2 separate regions of the Homo sapiens genome follow, and region 2 is linked to region 1. Evidence: promoter capture Hi-C in human tissues and cell types (Jung and others, 2019). All regions are on one chromosome and are shown on one strand. The core of a region is centred on a gene start or on the middle of the fragment in contact, and the rest is flanking DNA. Distances in the headings are between cores, read along the strand shown.

What was found. Contacts are between HindIII fragments. The study calls those that stand out against the background at their distance.
Region 2: a contact is called between a fragment that was not itself captured here and the fragment with the promoter of PRLH in region 1, in 7 of the 25 tissues and cell types used here (IMR-90 fibroblasts, aorta, bladder and 4 more).

Annotation. Positions count from the first base shown.
Region 1 is chr2:237,565,236-237,568,284 of GRCh38, forward strand. PRLH (prolactin releasing hormone) reads left to right here and starts at 1,339. Exons shown (of 2, transcript NM_015893.1): 1 at 1,339-1,438; 2 at 1,777-1,940. The coding sequence starts at 1,339. The coding sequence ends at 1,940. The HindIII fragment of the contact is 10,563 bases long and covers 1-3,049 here.
Region 2 is chr2:237,505,327-237,508,372 of GRCh38, forward strand. The region is part of intron 2 of MLPH (melanophilin); the gene reads left to right. Among named protein-coding and RNA genes, the nearest start is that of MIR6811, 4.1 kb to the right of the region's middle. The HindIII fragment of the contact is 6,955 bases long and covers 1-3,046 here.

The DNA.
Region 1 (3,049 bases), core at 89-2,588:
GGGGACCATGCAGAGAGCCAGGTTTAACTGCTGTTTCTGTGCTTATTCCCACCTCAGCACAGATCAGAGGAACACGTGGAGATCTATGTGGCTATGTGCACGCGCACATCTACACACATACATACACATCTACACACTCACACACATCTACACACATACATACACTCACACACAACTACACACACATCTACACACATACACACACATCTACACTCATACACATCTACACACACTCACACACATCTACACACGTACACACACACATCTACACACACATCTACACACATACACATCTACACACATACATACACACATCTACACACATACACTCACACACCTACACTCATACACACATACACTCACACACACATCTACACATGTACACTCACACACCTACACACATACACATCTACACACACTCACACACACATCGACACACACACATCTACACACATATCTACACACATACACACATCTACACACATACACACACACACAGCTACACACACATCTACACATACACACACATCTACACACATACTCACACAACTACACACACATCCACACACATACATACACTCACACACAACTACACACACCTACACATACACACATCTACACACACACATCTACACACATACACACAAACCTACACACATACACACATCTACACACAGACACATCTGCACACATACACACGCATCTACCCAATACACACAGACACACTACACACATACACACACATCTACACACACACACATCTGCACACATACACACATCACACACTCACACACATCTGCACACATACACACACATCTACACACATACACACAAACCTACACACATACACACATCTACACACAGACACATCTGCACACATACACACGCATCTACACAATACACACAGACACATCTACACACATACACACACATCTACACACATACACACATCTGCACACATACACACATCTACACACATACACTCACACACATCTGCACACATACACACACATCTACACACATACACACACACCTGCACACATACACACATCTACACACATACACACACATATCTGCACACATACACACACACAGGCACCCATGTGCACACACCACACCCTCTTGTACACATATACATACACAGCTGTGCACTCACATGCACACAGGCTCATGCACATACTTCTCTCTCACACACAGTGCTCACTCTACCCAAGGTCCCAGCTCCGTGCACACGCACCCTGATGCCTGTGTGACGCTGCTCCTGCCCCTTCTCCCCCAGGCCGTGTCCTCCTCATTTGGATCTCCCCTCCAGCGGGGCCTCCTCGGAGGAGCCAAGGGATGAAGGTGCTGAGGGCCTGGCTCCTGTGCCTGCTGATGCTGGGCCTGGCCCTGCGGGGAGCTGCAAGTCGTACCCATCGGCACTCCATGGAGATCCGCAGTGAGTGCCTGGACCCCTGTCAGCCTCCCTTACCCCACCCTGCCTCACCCCAGAACCTAGTGCAGCCTGGTCGCTCGAGAACCTGGCAGGAACGGGGTGCGCGGGAGGAAAGGGAAGTCAGTCTTGGTGCTTTTTTGAACTCCTGCTTCCCAAAGCCAGCCCACGCCCAGAAATGGCCTCGCCAGAACCTCTGGGTGCCTGTTCCTCGGGTGGCTCCCAGCATGGCCTGGCGACTGGGCTGAGAGGCCCTGCCTGTGCACTCTGCCCCGCTGCCTCTGGGAGCACAGCACACCCTGGGGACACGTGCCCATGGTCTGCTCCAGCTCTTTCCTTTCCAGCCCCTGACATCAATCCTGCCTGGTACGCCAGTCGCGGGATCAGGCCTGTGGGCCGCTTCGGTCGGAGGAGGGCAACCCTGGGGGACGTCCCCAAGCCTGGCCTGCGACCCCGGCTGACCTGCTTCCCCCTGGAAGGCGGTGCTATGTCGTCCCAGGATGGCTGACAGCCAGCTTGTCAAGAAACTCACTCTGGAGCCTCCCCCACCCCACCCTCTCCTCTCCTTCGGGCTCCTTTCCCTTCAATCCTAATAAAAGCTCTGGTCTTCAGTTACACATTCACGACTGTGTGGTGGTGACTCTGAAGTTGTTCCCTCCTGGGACATTAGACTAGAAAGAACCTCAGAGCCCAGCAACTTCTTTGGAAGAAAAGGCTTTGTGACTTGGCAGAGGGCACTTGGCACTGAGTTGGGGCGCTGGGTCTACCCTTGGTCACCGGCAGCCCACAGCCACCCCCACACCCAAGCTGCCCTGAGTGGCTGCCCAGGCTGTCCACTGCAGAAGGCCAGGAGGTGCCACGCGTCATACTCTGCAGGACACTGTCCCCATAGGACGGTAGCACAGCCCCCAGCCTGAGCCCTGGGCAGCCCCTCAACTTCAGTCCTTTTTATTTAGACTATTTTTCAGAGCAGCTTTAGGTTCACAGCAAAATTGAGTAGAAGGTACAGAAAGTTCCCATCCACCCCCTTCCCCCACATCCGCACAGCCTCCCCCATGATCAACACCCCCACCGAGGGTGCTTTTGTCCCAGTCGAGGAACCCACACTGACACATCCCCATCCCCAACCAGCGTATGTCAGAGCCCACTCTCCACGCTGTGCGTCCTGTGGGTTTGCACAAATGTACAACAACACGATGTGGCATCACGCAGAGTCGTTTAACTGTCCTAGAAGTCCTCTGGGCTCCCCCTACTCATCCCTGCACCCCGCAACCCCTACAACTGCTAGTCCTCTCATTGCAGTCTGTCTTGCCTCCCTCTTACTCAGGGAAGATGCATCATGGATTGTTTCTGACCCATGGCAGGGAGACTTGAACCTAGATTGCTCCCACGCCACGTGCGTCCCTTTCAAATCACACGGGGATGTCTCCACATCCTGCCTCAGGTGTAGCTTAGGTTGGCATTGGGGGCACACTTGCACCACCTGGGAGACTGAGTTCATCCCGTGAATCACTGAGCCTCAGTTTCCACAACTGCATGCCACAGAACAGCAACGCTTACCTCATTCCTCAGCTCCGTGGGCGTGGCACCTGCACGCCTGCCGGCACAGGGTGGGTG
Region 2 (3,046 bases), core at 382-2,881, 60 kb before region 1:
CACCAACCCCAAGCCTCTGCCAGTCCCCTGGCTGCTCCTCATCGCATGCAGTCCTGCTGGAGCATGGTTTAAGGATCACAGGGATGTGGATTCCCCACCACCCCAGCACCCAACGCAAGTGGAGGCCCACAGGACCCCTCATGCAGGCTCTTCCCCCGCCTGTGTGCTGGACCTTGGGGATGGCCACAGTGGGAGCTTCCCCCTGCTGTGCCTTCAGGGGTGGCCACCAGCCCCGCCATCCTGGGCTCTCCCCAGTATTCCTGCATGTTGCCACCACACCCCTGTCTAGATTTCACCCCAAGAGGGGCAGAGCAGGGCACAGGTCTGACCCCTTCACCCTGCGTGGCTCACCAATCCTGTCCAGACCCCATCATAGGAGCGGCCTTTCCTTCCTGTTCCCGTCCTAGAAGCGTTTTCCTTCCCTGGTATACGCCCTTTCTTCAGAGGCTGCCGGGCCTCCCTTGAGGACAGGAGTGCCCCCTTGGCTCTGTTCTGCCCCACCAGTCACAGCTCTGGCATGCGTGTCCCAGGGCCCTCTGGAGGTGGGACTGCAGAGGACAGTAATGTGGGTCCCCTGCCCCAAGGACAAGGACAGCACTTCCCTTCCACCCCCATGCATCCCCGTCTCCAGGGCTCTGTCTCCCCTGGGAGCTCACTTTCTCGGCCTTTGCCATCATCTCCCCACTGTCTCCCATCGCTTAGTCCCTTTTCTCCACATTCTGGGAGGGAGAGCAAACTTGACTTCGAAATCAGCAGTTCTCAAACCTTTGGGCCTCAGGACCCCTTCACATTTCCTAAATTACTGAGAACCCCAAAGAGTTTTATTCATATGGGTCATATCTATTAATATTTACCACATCAGAAATTAAAACTGGGAGTTAAAAATATTTATTTATTCACTCATTTAAAAATAACAGTAAACCCCCTACATGTTAATATAAATACAGTTTTTATAAAAAATGAGATTTTCCCAAAATCAGAGTGTGAGTAAGGTGAGTGGTGTTGTTCTGCTTTTGCAAATCTCTTTAATGTCTGTGTAGCAGGACAAGCCACAGACAAGAACTCCTCAGACACCGAATTGTAGAAGGAAAGGGCTTTATTCAGCTGGGAGCATCGGCAGACTCACGTCTCCAAAAACCAAGTTCCTCGAGTGAGCAATTCCTGTCCCTTTTAAGGGCTTACAACTCTAAGGGGGTTCATGTGAGAGGGTCATGATCGATTGAGCAAGCAGGGGGTACGTGACTGGGGGCTACATGCACCTGCACCAGTAATTAGAATGGAACAGAACAGGACAGGGATTTTCACAATGCTTTTCCGTGCAATGTCTGTAATCTATAGATAACATAACTGATTAGGTCAGGGGTCGATCTTTAACTACCAGGCCCAGGGTGTGGCGCTGGGCTGTCTGCCTGTGGATTTCATTTCTGCCTTTTAGTTTTTACTTCTTTTTTCTTTGGAGGCAGAAATTGGGCATAAGACAATATGAGGGGTGGTCTCCTCCCTTATCTGGAACAATAGAAGATGGGTGAATTCTCCACTTGCTTCTGCATTCAGTGGGTCGTAACATGTTTTCTAGGCTGTAGTATTTGAAGAAAATCTAGGCTCATACAGATACATAATTGAAAAAAGGAGTACTTGAATAGCCTTTGTAGACAATAATTAACATCATGTGTTGTTACAACATGAAAACCCGGCAGTTGGAGTTGGTAGTTTTTTTCCTTTTTCTTTTTTTTTTCTTTTTTTTTTTTTTTTTTTTTGAGACAAAGTCTCTCTCTGCCACCCTTGGATGGAGTGCAGTAGCGTAATCTCGGCTTACTGCAACCTCCACCTCCTAGGTTCAAGCGATTCCCCTGCCTCAGCCTCCTAAGTAGCTGTGACTACAGGTGCGTGCCACCATGTCTGGCTAATTTTTGCATTTTTAGTAGAGACAGGGTTTCACCACATTGGCCGAGCTAGTCTCAAACTCCTGACCTCAAGTGATCTGCCTGCCTCAGCCTCCCAAAGTGCTGGAATTACAGGCATGAGCCACTGCGCCCGGCCAGTTGGTAGTTTCTTAAAGGTTAGTTGTGATGTGGAATCTGAAACCATGTTAATGAACTTTTCCTTTTCTGTTTGTTCAAATCCATTGGTCTCTCTTGCACTTGAAGTGGATTTTCTACCCCTGTGTGATTTTTGTAACACCATGCATTAATCATTTGGAAGACACCGGCTCACTGAGTGATGCAGACTTCTCAAATGTTGACACATTTCATATGCACACCAAAAGAGAACCACTTCTGTTACTCTCACCAGCGATCTCATCAAAAGTCTCCCGGTGTTGGAAACCCTCATCAAAAGTCTCCCAGTGTTGCAAACTGTCAAGCTCACAGCAGGCGATATATGTTTTCCAGAATTCTACTTTGTGCTTGAAAGCTTCCGTTTTATTACTGGCAATAAATACTGTCACTTCTTTTCCTTGAAGTGAGAGTCGCACTTTGTTCATTTTTGAGAAAATATCTGCCAAGTACCCAAGTCGAAACAGTTCATCTCTCTGTTGTTCTCTCAAGTGAAAATGCTATTTCATAAGAAAAGTTTCTAGCTCAGGTGGCGATCGGAACAATTGCCCAATCCTTTTAATAGAAATATCTGTCACCTTCAACACGTGGCACAAGAGCTTCCTGTCCTCCTCCAAGCTCATCAGGCAGAATCCTCAAAAGACATGGACTGGGGGCCACGGTTCAAAAAGACTCATAACTTTTAGGGTTTCATCAAGGTGATTCTTTAATGAAACTGTTTTTTCTTCTCATTTCTTTTTCTTTTTTTTGAGACAGAATCTCACTCTGTCACCCACGCTGGAGTGCAGTGACACAATCTCGGCTCACTGCAACCTCTGCTTCCCTGGTTCAAGCGACTCTCCTGCCTCAGCCTCCTGAGTAGCAGGGATTACAGGTGTCCACCACTGTGCCTGGCTAATTTTTGTATTTTTAGTAGAGACGGGGTTTCACCATGTTGGCCAGGCTGGTCTTGAACTCCTTACCTCAGGTGATCCACCTTCCTCAGCCTCCCA